Linked DNA regions of Homo sapiens: region 1 is linked to region 2. Evidence: promoter capture Hi-C in human tissues and cell types (Jung and others, 2019). All regions are on one chromosome and are shown on one strand. The core of a region is centred on a gene start or on the middle of the fragment in contact, and the rest is flanking DNA. Distances in the headings are between cores, read along the strand shown. Region 1 holds the start of ALDH1L1 (aldehyde dehydrogenase 1 family member L1). Region 2 holds the start of ROPN1B (rhophilin associated tail protein 1B).

Evidence for each region. The method cuts DNA at HindIII sites, captures the fragments that hold promoters and counts their contacts. A contact is called where the count stands out against the background at its distance.
Region 1: a fragment that was not itself captured here is called in contact with the fragment with the promoter of ROPN1B in region 2 in 1 of the 25 tissues and cell types used here (thymus).

Annotation. Positions count from the first base shown.
Region 1 is chr3:126,176,104-126,183,877 of GRCh38, reverse strand. It overlaps ALDH1L1 (aldehyde dehydrogenase 1 family member L1), which reads left to right and starts at 3,292. Exons shown (of 23, transcript NM_012190.4): 1 at 3,292-3,402. It overlaps ALDH1L1-AS2 (ALDH1L1 antisense RNA 2), which reads right to left and starts at 3,813. Exons shown (of 2, transcript NR_046383.1): 1 at 3,334-3,813. RefSeq lists enhancers at 2,123-2,876, 2,877-3,632. The HindIII fragment of the contact is 3,712 bases long and covers 1,260-4,971 here.
Region 2 is chr3:125,966,961-125,973,624 of GRCh38, reverse strand. ROPN1B (rhophilin associated tail protein 1B) reads right to left here and starts at 4,447. Exons shown (of 7, transcript NM_001308313.2): 1 at 4,225-4,447; 2 at 2,463-2,508; 3 at 1,455-1,582. The coding sequence starts at 1,570. It also overlaps the pseudogene ALG1L1P. The HindIII fragment of the contact is 7,959 bases long and covers 388-6,664 here.

The DNA.
Region 1 (7,774 bases), core at 1,866-4,365, 210 kb before region 2:
TAGAATCAGCTCAATATCCAGAATCTCTGCATCTAAATCAGGCTTTGATGTGGGTGAAGCACCTGGGGTATTATTCCCTCAAGTGTAGCTCCTTGAGTAGAGTTGCTCTCAATCTACAGACTTAGGAATTCCAGAGACAAATTAACTGCGCCTCCCCCCTGCACCCACCTGACATAAACTGGTGGGATAGGCATTGGATAACCACTGTAGACGTGCCTGCTCCAAAGGGAACAAGGACAGGAGGCATGCAGGAGTAACTAGTGTACGGCAATTCTAAAATCTTCCTGGGCGGGTCCTGAAAGTCTCTTGAATAGGACTCAGTCTGACTCTGGCCCCAGAGTGATTCTCCACGCTCTTGGCTCCACCCTTTGGGTTCTTTGTTCTATTCCCCAAGTCATCCCTTCTTTTCCATGAAATGCAGCCCAGGTTCATATCCGTATAGTTTCTCAGCTTGCTTCCTCCCAGAATTTGGGGGAGTCTAGAGGTCTCTTTTCATTTTATATTGTCTCTGACCCTTTCAGTCCAAGTCTACACTGTTTTGCTCATATAATTCTTTTAAAAATGTTGCATGTCTCCTGTAGATCTCACTGAGGTTCATGCCTTTAGACAACTGTCAAACCCACACATCTCTTTGAGAAAAGCCCTTCTCTCTCTTGGGCTTCTGCTGAGACTGCTGTCAAGGACAACTGTAAGCTTCTTAGAAATCCTACTATTTAACAAAATATTCTGAGGTGTCCCTTTGTTCTCTTTGAAGATTTTACAAAAGATCTCATGACCACACTCTTGGCTTCATCTTTAGGCCATCTTCCTTGCACTGGCCTGCATTTGCTCTTTGCCTGGAAGCCATTTGTTAGTTTTAGCATCATATGACATCTGGAGAAGCTGGACATTTTCACAGCCCAAGTTATGGTTCCTTTTTATTTAACAATCCTTCCTTTGGCTTATGTCCCTTCTCTCACATTTTAGTATAAGCAGCAAGAAGAAGCCAGGAGGAGGCACCTTCAACAATCTCCTTAATGAGATCCCCCAGTTCATCTGGTACATTTTCTACTTTCCACATGATTTCGGAACACTTTCTGCTTAAAATTCCCTCCTCTCCTGCTCCATACCTCTAAGAGTATGGATTCCTCTCTGATTTCCTAATACATCTTTTTGGGGTGTCTAACCTCCAAGCCATTGTTCAGTGGTTCCTGTCGCCCATCTGCCTTCTCAATTTTAACTCCCAAGTTCAGAACACACCACTTTCCCATTGCAGGCCCCTAACACTCAGCCAGTTTTCCTACAGATTATATGGCACACCTTCCACACACAGGGCATGCATTCAGCCCTGGGGACTTCCCAGGAGAATAAGCTAGTCTTCGCCATCATTGTCCAGAGACATGTTAATCAAGCAATCCCAGAAGCAGTGATAAAATTGCAGTTGAAGGCAGGGTGCAGTGGCTCATGCCTGTAATCTCAGCACTTTGGGAGGCTGAGGTAGGTGGATCATCTGACGTCAGGAGTTTGAGACCAGCCTGGCCAACATGGTGAAACCCCGGTGAAACGTCTACTAAAAATACAAAAATTAGCTGGGTGTGGTGGCGCATGCCTGTAATCCCAGCTACTCAGGAGGCTAAGGCAGGAGAATCGCTTGAACCTAGGAGGTGGAGGGTCCATTGAGCTGAGATTGCACCATTGGACTCTAGCCTGGGTGACAGAGTGAGACTCTACCTCAAAAAAAAATAAATAAATAAAGTTGAGAGAGGTTCATGAAGAAAAATTACAGGCCTCTCTGTGATCACATAATGGAGGAATCTGTCCTAGTAAGGCTGAGGCTAGGGAAAGCTTCCCTGAAGTCATGGCATTTTAGTAGGAACTTCCTGAAGAATGATGGGGGTTCTCTGGACAAAGATGAACGGCACATGGAAACTTTATGAGTCGAGAAGTTCCACAGATATGAGGGACAGCAGGGAGACCTGCAGGCTGGAGCCTAAAGAACAAGGGGACAGTGCCTGAAAGTAGGCTAAGTGGATCAGCAGGCACAGGCCACCTCAATCCTGGGTGCCCATACTGGCTTATGTGAGCAAAATACATGCATTAAGCCATTCAACAAACATTTATTTAGCAACTGCTACAAGCCATCACTGTGTATTGGGGATACAACAGTGAATACATCTCACAAATTTCCTGTCCTCAAAGAGCTTACAGTCTAGTGGGAGAGACAGACAATGAACAAACAAAGAAACAAGGAAATATCAGATATACAGTTAAGTGCTGTGAAGGAAATAGAACAGGGTGATGTGGCAGGGAGTGGCTGAGGGACTTCCTTAGTTTGTGTGACCTGGAACAGCCTCTCTAAGGCTCTGCATCAGATATCTGATATGTGATACCATATGGGAGCAGGCTCTGAAAGAACACTACAAGTAGAGAGGTAAAGGCAGGGGCTGCAGCAAGCCTGATGTGTTCAGGCACTGAGCAGAGAGAGGGCCAGGTGGTCGGGACTTAGCGAGAGGGTCGCCTCAAAAGAAGTGAGGCTTAGCAGGGCACGGAGCAGTGCGGCCGCAGGTGTGGTGGGAAGGGTGTTCCAGGAGAAGGAGCCACCTGGACACAGGCTTGCAGTCATGAAACAATACGCAATTATCACTCCCGGCATTCTACATGGCCTTGCCTGAGACCGGGCTGGCCAGGATCTCTGGGAACCAGGAGGAGGGGTCTGCGGCACCAGGACTGAGTAGAAGGGAGAGAGTGGAGAAGGGGAATTGCAGAGAGAAAACCAGGGGCTGTTTTTCTCTCGGAGAGGCGGGTAGGCACTGGGCGGGCAGAAGCGCCGCTATCCACCCGGATGCGCAGCTGCTAAGGGGCCGCCTCTGCAAGCGGCTGCAAATTCCCGGAGGGCAGCGTCTCCTTTCGCTCTGCTGTGTCCGTAGCACATGGCAGGTACTTGGCCCATCAAGAGTGAGAGAGGGTGAGCGAGTGAGTGAGTCACCGGCTTGGCGAGGGTCTCCTCTGACCCACTTAGCCTTGCCAGCGCTCAGAACTGCCAGCCCTGCTGGGTGCTTGGGACTTTTCAAAGCCCTGGGAATTCTCCAAGGGTCCACAGTAAGTCTTCTTGACCTAAGCGGGAAAGAGCGCAGGCCCCTGCGGGGTTGGCTTTTACATGGCATTTATAGACCCGCCCGGAGAGGGTGCGCTGCGCTCCCGCCATAGTCCCACCACCGGTGAGCGCCGCCCCCACTCGGCTGACTCTCCGCCCGCCCCGCGCCCCTCCCCTCACGGGCTCTGGCCTTAACCAGAGCTCGCGGACTGGCGGGGACAGGTCCCACCTCCTGGCTCCCAGGACGGGTCTGCACCAACCTCAGTTTCGGGGCTGCGGCTCACAGAAGTCTAACCTGCCCGGGACGCCCGCACCAACTCCTGCGCGCGGTGAGTTTCTGGGCTCTCGAGAGCGCTGGACTCCCGGCGGAAAGGAGGCTGCCCCGGCTGCAGCTCCGGGGGCTCCGGGGGCTCCAGGGGCTCCAGGACTCGGTTCTCACCGCAAGGGCTCCTGCGGGGCCCATCAACTTCGCCGCTGGGACGCCGGGCTCGGGGTACGGGTCCGGAGTTCTTTGGAGCAATTGAGGCTGAACCTGGCCAGGGGTCATCAGGCTAAATGACCGCAGCGCCAGGACTGGCCCGCCGAGGATCTGGCCGGCCGCGGTGGTAGGGCCCTTACGGAGCTGGCGCCAACCTGTGGGGTGGGCACTGCTGGCCCGGCTTATGGAAGAGAAAACTGAGGCTCGATAAGAGAAAGGGACCAGCGAAGGCGACGCGATGATTTGTGACTGGGGACTACCTGTTTCCTGGGCCCCTCGACCCCATTCTGTGACAGGGAAAGGTCTTCCCTGATTGGCCAAATCTGGGGGCCTGGCACGAGGGCCTCTTGTGATTGGAGGGGTCGACGTGAGCGCTCAGGGGCTGCGCTGGAGTCCCAGCTCCAGCCACTGCGCTCAAGTGGACGGTCGCGCGTGCAGAGGGAGGCCGGATAGCAGACCCCACAACGTGGCTCCTGGGGCCCCGCTATCGAGAGCTCAGGCCCCGCGGGCACTTGCCTAGGAGAGGAAAGAATCTTCCCAAAGTGCAGACAGAGACGGAATTTAATCAGGAGTCCCAGACTTGGAGTTTGGAGGCATGGGCTCTGGTGTCAGGTGACTTTGTTTCCTCCCCACGCCTCCACTTCTCCTTGACCTTGGGCAAGTTTCTTGTGTTCTGAATCTTAGTTTCTTGTCTCTAAAATCGGGAGGGGCAATGAACAGTAGTGCCTGCCTCCCAAGATTGCTTGAGAATTACATGAGACTGCCCCGCGCCTGGCCCTAGGAAACCCTCGGAGAATGTTGGCTGCTGTTTGTTTGTTTGTTTGTTTGAGACAGAGTCTCGCTCTGTCGCCCAGGCTGGAGTGCAGTGGCACGATCTCGGCTCACTGCAACCTCCGCCTCCCGGGTTCAAGTGATTCTCCCGCCTCAGCCTCCCGAGTGCTAGAACTGCATTCATGGGCCCCAGGGCCCTAGCACCAGAACAGAGGGCCCAGAGCTGCAGTCCTGCAGGGTGGCCCAGCCTCACAGGGACTAGAAGCTGGGTCCTGGAGAGCCAAGCCTGGGCTGGGAATTGGGTAGGAGGGTTGGGAGGCCCAGGAAGCCTCCCAGTGTCCCCACACCACCAAGTGAAAGGACACTGAGCGGCCATGACTGGGGGAGGAGGTGGAGGCCTGGAGGCGGCCCATACGGCCCACAAGGGGCTCTATGGGCTTCACTGCAGGCCCCTGCTCTTTCTGGGGCCAAAGGGCAAGCCTGATTGAGGCCCCTCCCAAGGCTCCCGTGCCTGCCATTCTGGCTTTCCCTGGACTGTGACAACAGCCCCTTGGTGGCCACCTGGACTCTGCCTCCCTGCAGGGGGGGAACGACATACTCTTTTATTTTTTTTTTTCAGAAGTAATCATGTACAATATAAAAAAAGAACATTCAGTTAAGAAAACAAAATAATTACAGTCGTCAAAAACCTCTGAAACCCAAAACCCTTTACCCAGTAACTTTCAACATTTCAGTGTAAATTCTTCTAGGCTTTTACCCTGCAGATAAACACACGCATGCACACACAGACACACACACACACACACACAAACTTAAGCCTTACACAATTATCGTGGTTTGTTACTTGTTGGGTGTTTTGACAGTGTCAGGTTTGTATAACTCAATATTTACCAATATTTTCTAATAATTTAATGTTTTCTTCTTATATTTGATTTTCAAGTATTTATTTTTAACCCAATTGGACTGTATTTTAGAGTAAGATGTGAACTATAGAGCTAGATTCATTTATTTATTTCAATTAGTAGACATTTTTAGAGCAGTTTTAGGTTTACAGAAGAATTGAGGACGGAGTGCAGAGTTCCCATATTCTCAGTCTGTCCCTTCCTGCGCGCTTTCTCCTATTTTTCTTTCTATTCTTTTCCTTTCTTTTTTTTTTTTTCTTTTTTTTTTTTTTTGAGACAGGGTCTCACTTTGTTGCCCAGGCTGGAGTGCAGTGGCACAAACACAGCTTACTGCAGCTTTGAACTCCTGGGCTCAAGTGATTCTCATGCCTCAGCCTCCCAAGTAGCTGGGACTACAGGCATGCACAACCACGCCTGGCTAATTTAAAAATTTTTTTGTAGAGATGGGTCTCACTTTGTTGCCCAAGCTGGCCTTGAACTCAAGGGCTCAAGTGATCCTCTGCCTTGGCCTCCCAAAGTGCTGGGATTACAGGCATGAACCACTAGGCCTGGCCTCCCCTATTTTTAACATCATGCATTGATAGGATATTTTTGTTACAGCTTTTTTCTTTTTGAAACAGTCTTGCTCTGTTGCCTAGGCTGGAGTGCAGTGGCACAATCTCAGCTCACTACAGTTTCTGCCTCCCAGGTTCAAGCAATTCTTGGGCCTCAGCCTCTCGAGTAGCTGGGATTACAGGTGCACCACCATGCCCAGCTAATTATTGTATTTTTATAATAGTAGAGACAGGGTTTTACCATGTTAGCCAGGCTGCTTTTGAACTCCTGGCCTCAAGTGATCAGCCCGCCTTGGCCTCCCAAAGTGCTGGGATTACAGGTGTGAGCCACCAGGCCTGGCCAATTTTGTTATACTTGGTGAGCCAATATCGATGCAATGTTATTAATGAAAGTCCATAATTTACATTAGAATTCCCTCTTGGTGTTGTACCTTCTATGGTTTTGGACAAACATATAATGATGAGTATCCAGTGTTACAGTATCATAGAGAATAGTTTCACTGCCCTAAAACTCTCCTGTGCTCTACCCATCCACCCCCCAACCCCCCTACCTATCCCTGGCAACCACTGGTTACTGCCTTTGTAGTTTTGCCTTTTCCAGAATGTCATATAGTATGTATGAATCATATGGTATATAGCCTTTCCAGACTGGCTTCTTTCGCTTAGCAAAATGCATTTAAGCATCCTCCATGTCTTTCTGTGACTTGGTAACCCATTTCTTTTTATCATTGACTAATATTCTGTTGTATGGATGTGGAGGTACCACAGTTTATTTCTCCATTCACATACTACAGGATATCTTGGTTGCTTCCAAGTTTTAGCAGTGAATAAAGCTGCTATCAACATTTGTGTGCAGGTTTTTGTGTGGACATTAGTTTTCTTCTCCTTTGAGTAAATATCAAGAGCGATTGATGGATCACATGGTAAAAGTATGTTTCGTGTTATAAAAAACTACCAAACCTTTTTCCATAGTGGTGGCATAATTTTTCATTTCTACCAGTAATAAATAAGAGTTCCTGTTGCTCCACAGCCTCATCAGCATTTGTTGTCAGTGCTCTTAATTTAACTCTTCTAATACGCATATAGTAGTATCTCATTGTTATATTTTAATTTGCAATCTGTAATGACTTACAGTGTTGAGCATCTTTTTAAATGCTTCTCTGCCATCTGTATATCTTCTTTTGTGAATGTCGGTTAATTTACTTGGCCCATTTTAAAATTGGGTTGTTTGTTTTACTGTTGAGTTTTAATAGTTCTTTGTATATTTTGGATAACAGTGCTTTACCAGATATGTCTTCTCTCCCCAACCATGGCTTGTCTTTTCATTCTCTTAACAGTGTCTTTTGCAGAGCAGAAGTTTTAAATTTTAATAAGGTCTAATGTACCATTTTTTTTCCTCCATGAATTGTGCTGTTGTTGTTGTATCTAAAAAGTCAAATCCAAGTTTTGGCAGTTACAAATAAAGATGCTGTAAACATCAGTGTACAGATATTTGTGTGATTTTTGTGCAATGCAGATTTTCTCCATTGTCTTGCCTTTGTCTCTTTGTCAAAGTTCAGTTGACTGTATTGATGTGAGTTTACTTCTGGGCTCTCTATTCTGTTCAATTGATCTATCTGACTATTCTTTTGCCAATACCGTACTGTCTTGATTACTGTAGCTTTATAGTAAAGTCTTGGGGACAGGCAGTATCGGTCCTCTAACTTCGTTCTCCTTCAATATTGTGTTGACTATCCCAGGTCTTTTGTCTCTCCAAATAAACTTGAGAATCAGTTTGTTGATATCCACAAATAACTGCTGGGGTTTTGATTGGGATTGCATTGAATCTATAGATAAAGTCGGAAAGAACTGACATCTGGACAGTATAGAGTTTCCCTACCCATGAACATGTACTATCTCTTCATTTATTTATACATATTTTTATGTTTTCATCAGTTATGGTTATTCTCACATAGATTTTGACCTATTTTAGGTTTATGTATAAATAATTCACTTT
Region 2 (6,664 bases), core at 3,198-5,697:
AATGCCTCTTCCATAAATGTCAGGGACAATACTAAGCAATGTCATTTTGCTTACTATAAAACGGCAGCACAAGAACAATCAAATGGGTTTGAAACTAACGTATAAGATAAAGTCTGTCTATCTGACTATGCCAAAATAAATTAGTCTTCTGAAGCTAAAGTTCAATCTTAGAGGCAATATATAAAATTTAGAATGGAAAACTAAACAGGGCTTATTACTAGGCAAAGCAACCCCCATTTATGTTTCTTTTTATGAGCACCACTGGCCTATTTTCCTTCCAATTGTAAAAGCTGCATCCTAATCCAGACCAGGAGCACAACACTGGCCCAGAGACTCCGAAAGGCCCCTCTTAGGTGCCATTTTGTGTCTTCTCAAAGGTGTCCACACTCTCCCCACCATCTGCCCAGGACACCCACTCACAACCTCAGCCTGAGGACATCTTCCCTTCCCCAACTCACTGGCTTTCTCTCAACGGCCTCTCTCACTCTCACTTTCCCACTGAAACCCTCCTAAGCAGGGAATCATCAAACAGTAAAAATAGCCTGAAAATGGTCCGTGAGGTCTAGTTATCTTCCAACTCCTGTCTCAAGTCCTGGTTCCCCAGTTTCAAGCAGGCAAGTTTGTCCAAGGAGCAATTTCATAGCTGAGAGGCTTTCTGTGCAAAGCTACTTCAATCCAGGCCCGCAGCGATTGTTGTGTAAGCTCCATCTACTGAGCAGCCTCTGGAGGTCTCTCCTGAAAGAAGGCACCCGTGTTTGAGGCACACTGTTTTCAGCCATGCCTGAGGACCCCATCACTCTGCCTGGCCTTTCCCCAGAATGCAGTGTGTACTGTGAGGACATCATTATGTTGGCAGAACAAATCAGTTCAGAGAAACACCAAAGAAAATAACAATAATTTCCTCAAAGATACAAAGCCTCTTTGGTTGGGTCCAAGTATGAGTTTTAACAGCAGGGGAGGAAGTGTCTCCTTAAAGGAGTGAACTAGCAGGACTGGTCCCACCCCATCCACCCAGGGCTGTCGCTTCCCTCCCCCGGCTGCACTGCTGCCATCTAGTGGTGAGACAGGAGAATGAAGAAAGGCAGATTAAGCTGCGGAGATTCCCAGCCCTTCTTTCCACCGAGAGTGGGAAAAGGCGTGCAGGGAGGAGGTGGGTGTGCATACGCTGGTGTGACGCGGTCATCTAACTTGCTGCTTGCCCCAGGACACGGCCTATTGACCTGGCGTCCTACTGCTCAATCTGGCTCGCTTAGGGGAGGCATCCCATCCTTGCCCGGCTAGATGTAGTATTTATGTGTGGATTTTAAAGCATCAAAGCAATGCAAGAGCTAAAACAAAGACGATGCCAGTTAGTCCCGACCCCCTGGCTGCAGCCATGACAACCTCCGCGGTTTTACAGGACCCTCTCTCCCCGCCCGTCCTCCAAGAGATGAAGGCGAGAAAGGAGCACGTACTCGGCCCCCCACTGGATGAGGTCCTGCGGCTGCGCCCGAATGGCGGCTTTGGCAAACTCCTTCAGCATTTTCGGCAGCTCCGGCGGGATGCATGTTGGCTTATCTGTCTGAGCCATTGATTGGTTGACCTATTCTCAGGAGAAAAAATACATAAGATGAAAACTTGGACTCATAAGATGAGAGCAATCCTGGACAGGAGGTCACCCAGCCTCTGTTTGACACTCAATTTTGGGGACTCCGCAAGACAAATGCATTCTATTGTTACACAACGGCAAGGTTAGAAAGCCGTCTGCTAACCCCTACTTTTTGTTGTAAATAGTTATATCCTTTACGTAAAAATTACACAGTCCTTTTTTATTTAAAAAGTGGAAGTCAACAAAAAAATCCCTAATGGTATCACCCTAAAATATTGGATGTCTCCTTCCAGAATTTTTCAGTATAAATATATATGTTTGTAAAACAAAAAAATAAGATTATGCAAAACAGCTTATTTACTCAAAAGTATATCATGAACATCTTTGCATGTCATCCAGCTCTTATTAGCTAGGTAAGAATTGTAGCAAAATTTACTCTGAACCCTCTATGAATTAACATTAGGTTATTTCCATATAAAAATAGTCATTAAACAGCCATTTGATGAGCGTCTCTGTTTATAGCTGCATGTTTTTTCAACTCTAATTGTCAGGCGGAAAACTCGTACATTTTCTCTCAAAAAGTTCCAGGACAAATTGAAACAAAACATGAACATCCATAAAATATATACAATTCCATCCACAAATAAACAACAGATCAAAAGATTTTTTTCTGCTTTTAGTAGAGAAAGGGACAGACTAGATATGCTAAAAAGCTGTCCCTCTTCAAAACACCTAGAGGCCAGACAAATCTCAGTACAAGCCTTTCACATTGCCTTGCTGGGCTTGCAGTGAAGTGAGAGAAATCTTCCAGTGGCCAATGAGGTGAGGAAAGGGGAACCCGCAGTGCTGGGCAAATGAAGAAACTAGGGCTCACCTGGGCACATGTAGATGGCAGGAACTTGAAGCTTTGAGATAAATTGCTAGGCAGGGTGGATAGAGACCAAGGATTAGGCTCACAAAAGGCAAATGTCTGGACTAAAGGACTCCCCTTCTGACCTAAACTTGAGACCCGCCCAGGGACTACACCCTCAGCGTGAAAAGGTGTGGCTGAAAATATCTGCCTACAGGCTGGGGTAAGCAACAAAGAAACCTGTCTCCATTGCTGCTTCTAGTCAGGAGAGAAACAGTCCCCCAGGAGTTGGTAGCCACAGACTAGTTCTAAGTTTTCCATTTATACCAACACCAGCATGGCTCGGAAATCCCAAGACAAGAAACTAAAGTGGTCTTAGATTGGTGGGACTTCATGACCTTTTACTTTATTTATGTTCTTTTATTTGGAGGAAAAGGATGATAAAATAATGATTAATTTTAGACTTTGCAAAGTATTAGAAAAGTTTTAACAGTAATAACCACTAAATCTGTACAGAGGAAAAAAGGATTTTTTAAAATTTTTTTAGTATTTATTGATCATTCTTGGGTGTTTCTCGGAGAGGGGGGAAGAAAGGAATTTTTAAAAAACACAAAAAAGCAAACAAAACATGCCTCCCAATGTGAAATGGCAGCCCAACGTATACCTGCCAAGTGCTGAAGAATGTAGGTCTTAAAATAGACTGTATAGTCTTGTTTCAGGGATTTCTCACTTGTTTTTATTGGTATGGGCTAAACAGGGCTTCCATTTCATAAATGAAAGTCTCCATTACATGAATGAAAGGCTCCAGGGCAGAATCTCAGAGGGTTTCTATGAGCGGCTTGGAACCAAGCACAGACAACTGCACATCCCTGTTTGGGTTCGGAATTGGAGGTGGTGGGTTTGGGATGTGGTTACTCTTGTTTGGAATGCATTCTCCTCCTCTTAACAGGTTGATTCTTCCTTTGGAGGTCTGCTTAACCTTCCCTGATTACCCTGTCAGTTCCATTGTACATACCCTTCCAGAGCATCACTTACCTATCCTTAGTGTGATTCTTTGAGTAACATGTGTCTCCCCCAGCAAACTCCACGGCAGGACTGGTCAGTTTTTGCTCACCACACCATCCCAGTGCCTAGCCCAGTGCCTGGAACTTAGTGTTCAATAGGTACTAGTAAAAATGAATGCGTGATAGCAGTCTATGAAGTGCTAGCTATAAAATGAACACGTGATAGGAGTCTATGAAGTGCTAGGTATAAAATAATGCGTGATAGGAGTCTATGAAGTGCTAGGTATAAAATAATATGTGATAGGAGTCTATGAAGTGCCAGGTATAAAATAATGCCTGACAGGAGTCTATGAAGTGCTAGGTATAAAATAATGTGTGATAGGAGTCTATGAAGTGCTAGGTATGCCCATTGGTCCACATGACAATTCACCCAGAGGTATTTTTATATCCCTGTCGCTGATGAAAAAGCAGAGGTGTGGCTCCTCGGTGGAGGGCTCTGATTCCAAACTCTTGAGCCTCCCAACCACTGTCCTCCGGGTAAGAAACCGTATAATAGTATTCTGGGTACAAAATACGCACACAAATTGGCCAGAAAGCCATAATCCCCCACAGTCACATTCTCTTGAAGATCCCCTTGCCTTCCCCTTGCCCTCCCCTTGCCCTGTGAACAAGGAGAGGCTCAGAATCCAGGGGGCGTCCGGCAGGGCTCCTCCCTCAGACCAGCGCAGCCCTCGGGGCGCTCAGAGCCCTGCCCTCCCTCCACTTCCCCTCGGGGTGGCTACCTCAGGCTCGCTCCCAAACCGGCTGTCTGGCTTCAGGCGACACCTGGCGCCTGGCCTCAGGCGAGAGGTGTGGGGAGAGACCGAGTGCCTCCCACCCTTCTTAAGAAGGAGAGCAGTAGAACCTCGGCGGGGAGGGCAGCAGCGGCCGGGGGTGACAGCAGCGGCGGGGCACGACCGCCGTTAGCGTTAGACGTTAGCGCTCCGCCTTCGCCTGGCAAACCCTGCGCGGGCTCCGCTGCCAGGTCACCAGGGGTAGCGCCGGGCGCGACGTCACAGAGCCGCCCCGCCTCTCCTGCAGCGGCGGGTTCCCAGGGTCCCGCTAGGGCGCTGCTAGGGGACGCTGAAAGCTGTTTTGGGCTTTGCTGGTGGTGGAAGGACCAGACGGCCTGGAGGGTTAAGGACTGGGCTGGGGACGTTAGGAAACCCGGGCTGGGGGCGTTGGGGGTGGGGCGGAATGTGTAGCCATTGACGGTGCGCTTTTGTAGGTGAGAGGGCAGAAGTGGAGCTTGATCTTTCGGCTTGTGGAAAGTGGACAGGTGAGAATTCCTCAGGAATCATAGCAACAACACCTCTTACAATGCGTTTTTGGTGCCAGGAATTGTTCTAAGTGCATTACACACATGAACTCATTTCATCCTTACTGTCACCCCATGAGGCAAGTACTATTGTTATCCCCATTTTTACAGATGAGGGAACTGAGCACAGAGAGGTTAAACTTGTCCAAGATGACAGTCAGCAAGTGACAGAGTCAGGATCTGAATCTGGGTTGCGTGGTCCCAGATTCCTCACTCTTGACCTTATAATGCTAAGAAAGGGGCATGGAGTGGATAGGAACAGAGCCTGAGATGCCTGGGGACAACAGGGAAAGATAGAAAATATTTATAGGGTAGAATGTGGTCACTGTGCCAGGGCACTTTTACAAACATGATGACATCAAAGTTTCACAGTAAACTCTGAAGGTAGATATTACCTTCGTTTTAGAAAACAGGCTCAAGGCTTCGAGTAATTTTGCCTGTGATCAAACAGCTGGCAGTAGGGCCCAGGGCCCAACTTGTCTCCAGGTCTTCTGATTTCAAGACTGTTGTTTTTGTTTTGTTTTGTTTTGCTTTGCTTTGTTTTGAGACAGAGTCTCACTCTGTTGCCCAGGTTGGAATGCAATGGGGTAATCATGACTCACTGCAGCCTCAATCTCCTAGGTCTAAGCAATCCTCCCACCTCAGCCTCCCAAGTAGCTGAGACTACAGGTGTGTGCCACCACACCAGGCTAATTTTTATATTTTTATAAACAGGGTTTTGCCGTGTTGCCCAGGCTGGTCTTGAACCCCTGGGCTCAAGTGATCCACCCCCCCTTGGTCACCCAAAGCACTGGGATTACAGGTGTGAGCCACCGCACCTGGCCTCAAGACTGTTCTTTTTAAGCACCCAAAGAGGCAAGAAAAGCCCCATCTTTCTCTGCTACACCCCGTGTCACTTCACACCCATATGAAAGCTGCTCATTGCATCATGTAATCCTTCAGTCCATTTATACTACAGTGTGTATTAGTCTAAATCAATTAATTCACCCAGGGTCTTCAGAGCTTTCTCTGGTTGTGAGATGAAAGCCTTTGTCTCTCCCTAAAGCAATTTTAAGCATCAGTGAACAAGTGGGGGAACTAGATTTTTGGCTTATGCATGCAGAAAGCTTTTCACAGCCTGTTGTCATCCATTTGTAAAGAGGCCACTCTGCTGGCATTTGTCAAAATCCTGCAGGTCCTTGCACACCTGGAGAATCCTGGATGGTCTGGGGACGGCCACTGCCCACAGGGCAAGATCTGGGGATGAAAGAAACCTAGTCACTAGCTATCACCTATCTTTCTGAGGCCTCTGTGGAGGGGCTACCAGGTGTTGGTACAGGCACCTGACCAACAGAGTGTGCCTTAGGTTGGGAGGGGGAGGCTGGAGGCTTGAGGGCTGCAGGTGCATCTTCCAGGATAACAAGAATGCTCTGGCCACTGGAGTCTGTTCTGTTGTATGCACATGAGATGAAGGTGTGCCAATCTCTTCCTGCTTTCATGCTGAGTAAATAATACTGACAGGAATGAATAATAATGATCTTTGTGCAGAAGAACAGGTTTTTCAGACAAAGCACTAACAGCTGGAGATGGAAGATGAAATAAAATAGAATTTTAGAGTAGCAGGTTAAACACAAGGGAGGAATTTCATAGCACTGTCTGACTGAGGTGATTTGATGTCTGTCTGTAGGAGGCCAGGTTGAGAGGCGTAGGTTAGATTATCCTTGATCTATCAGTCAATAAATAACAGGATACAATAAATAACAGGATACAGTCAAGAGAATATAATTTTACAGGGAAACGATAATAACACAATTCAGGAAAGTTGCTTTCTTCTAAAACAGAGGTAAGAGTAGAGAGGGAGGAGCACATAGATGTTACCGGTAGTG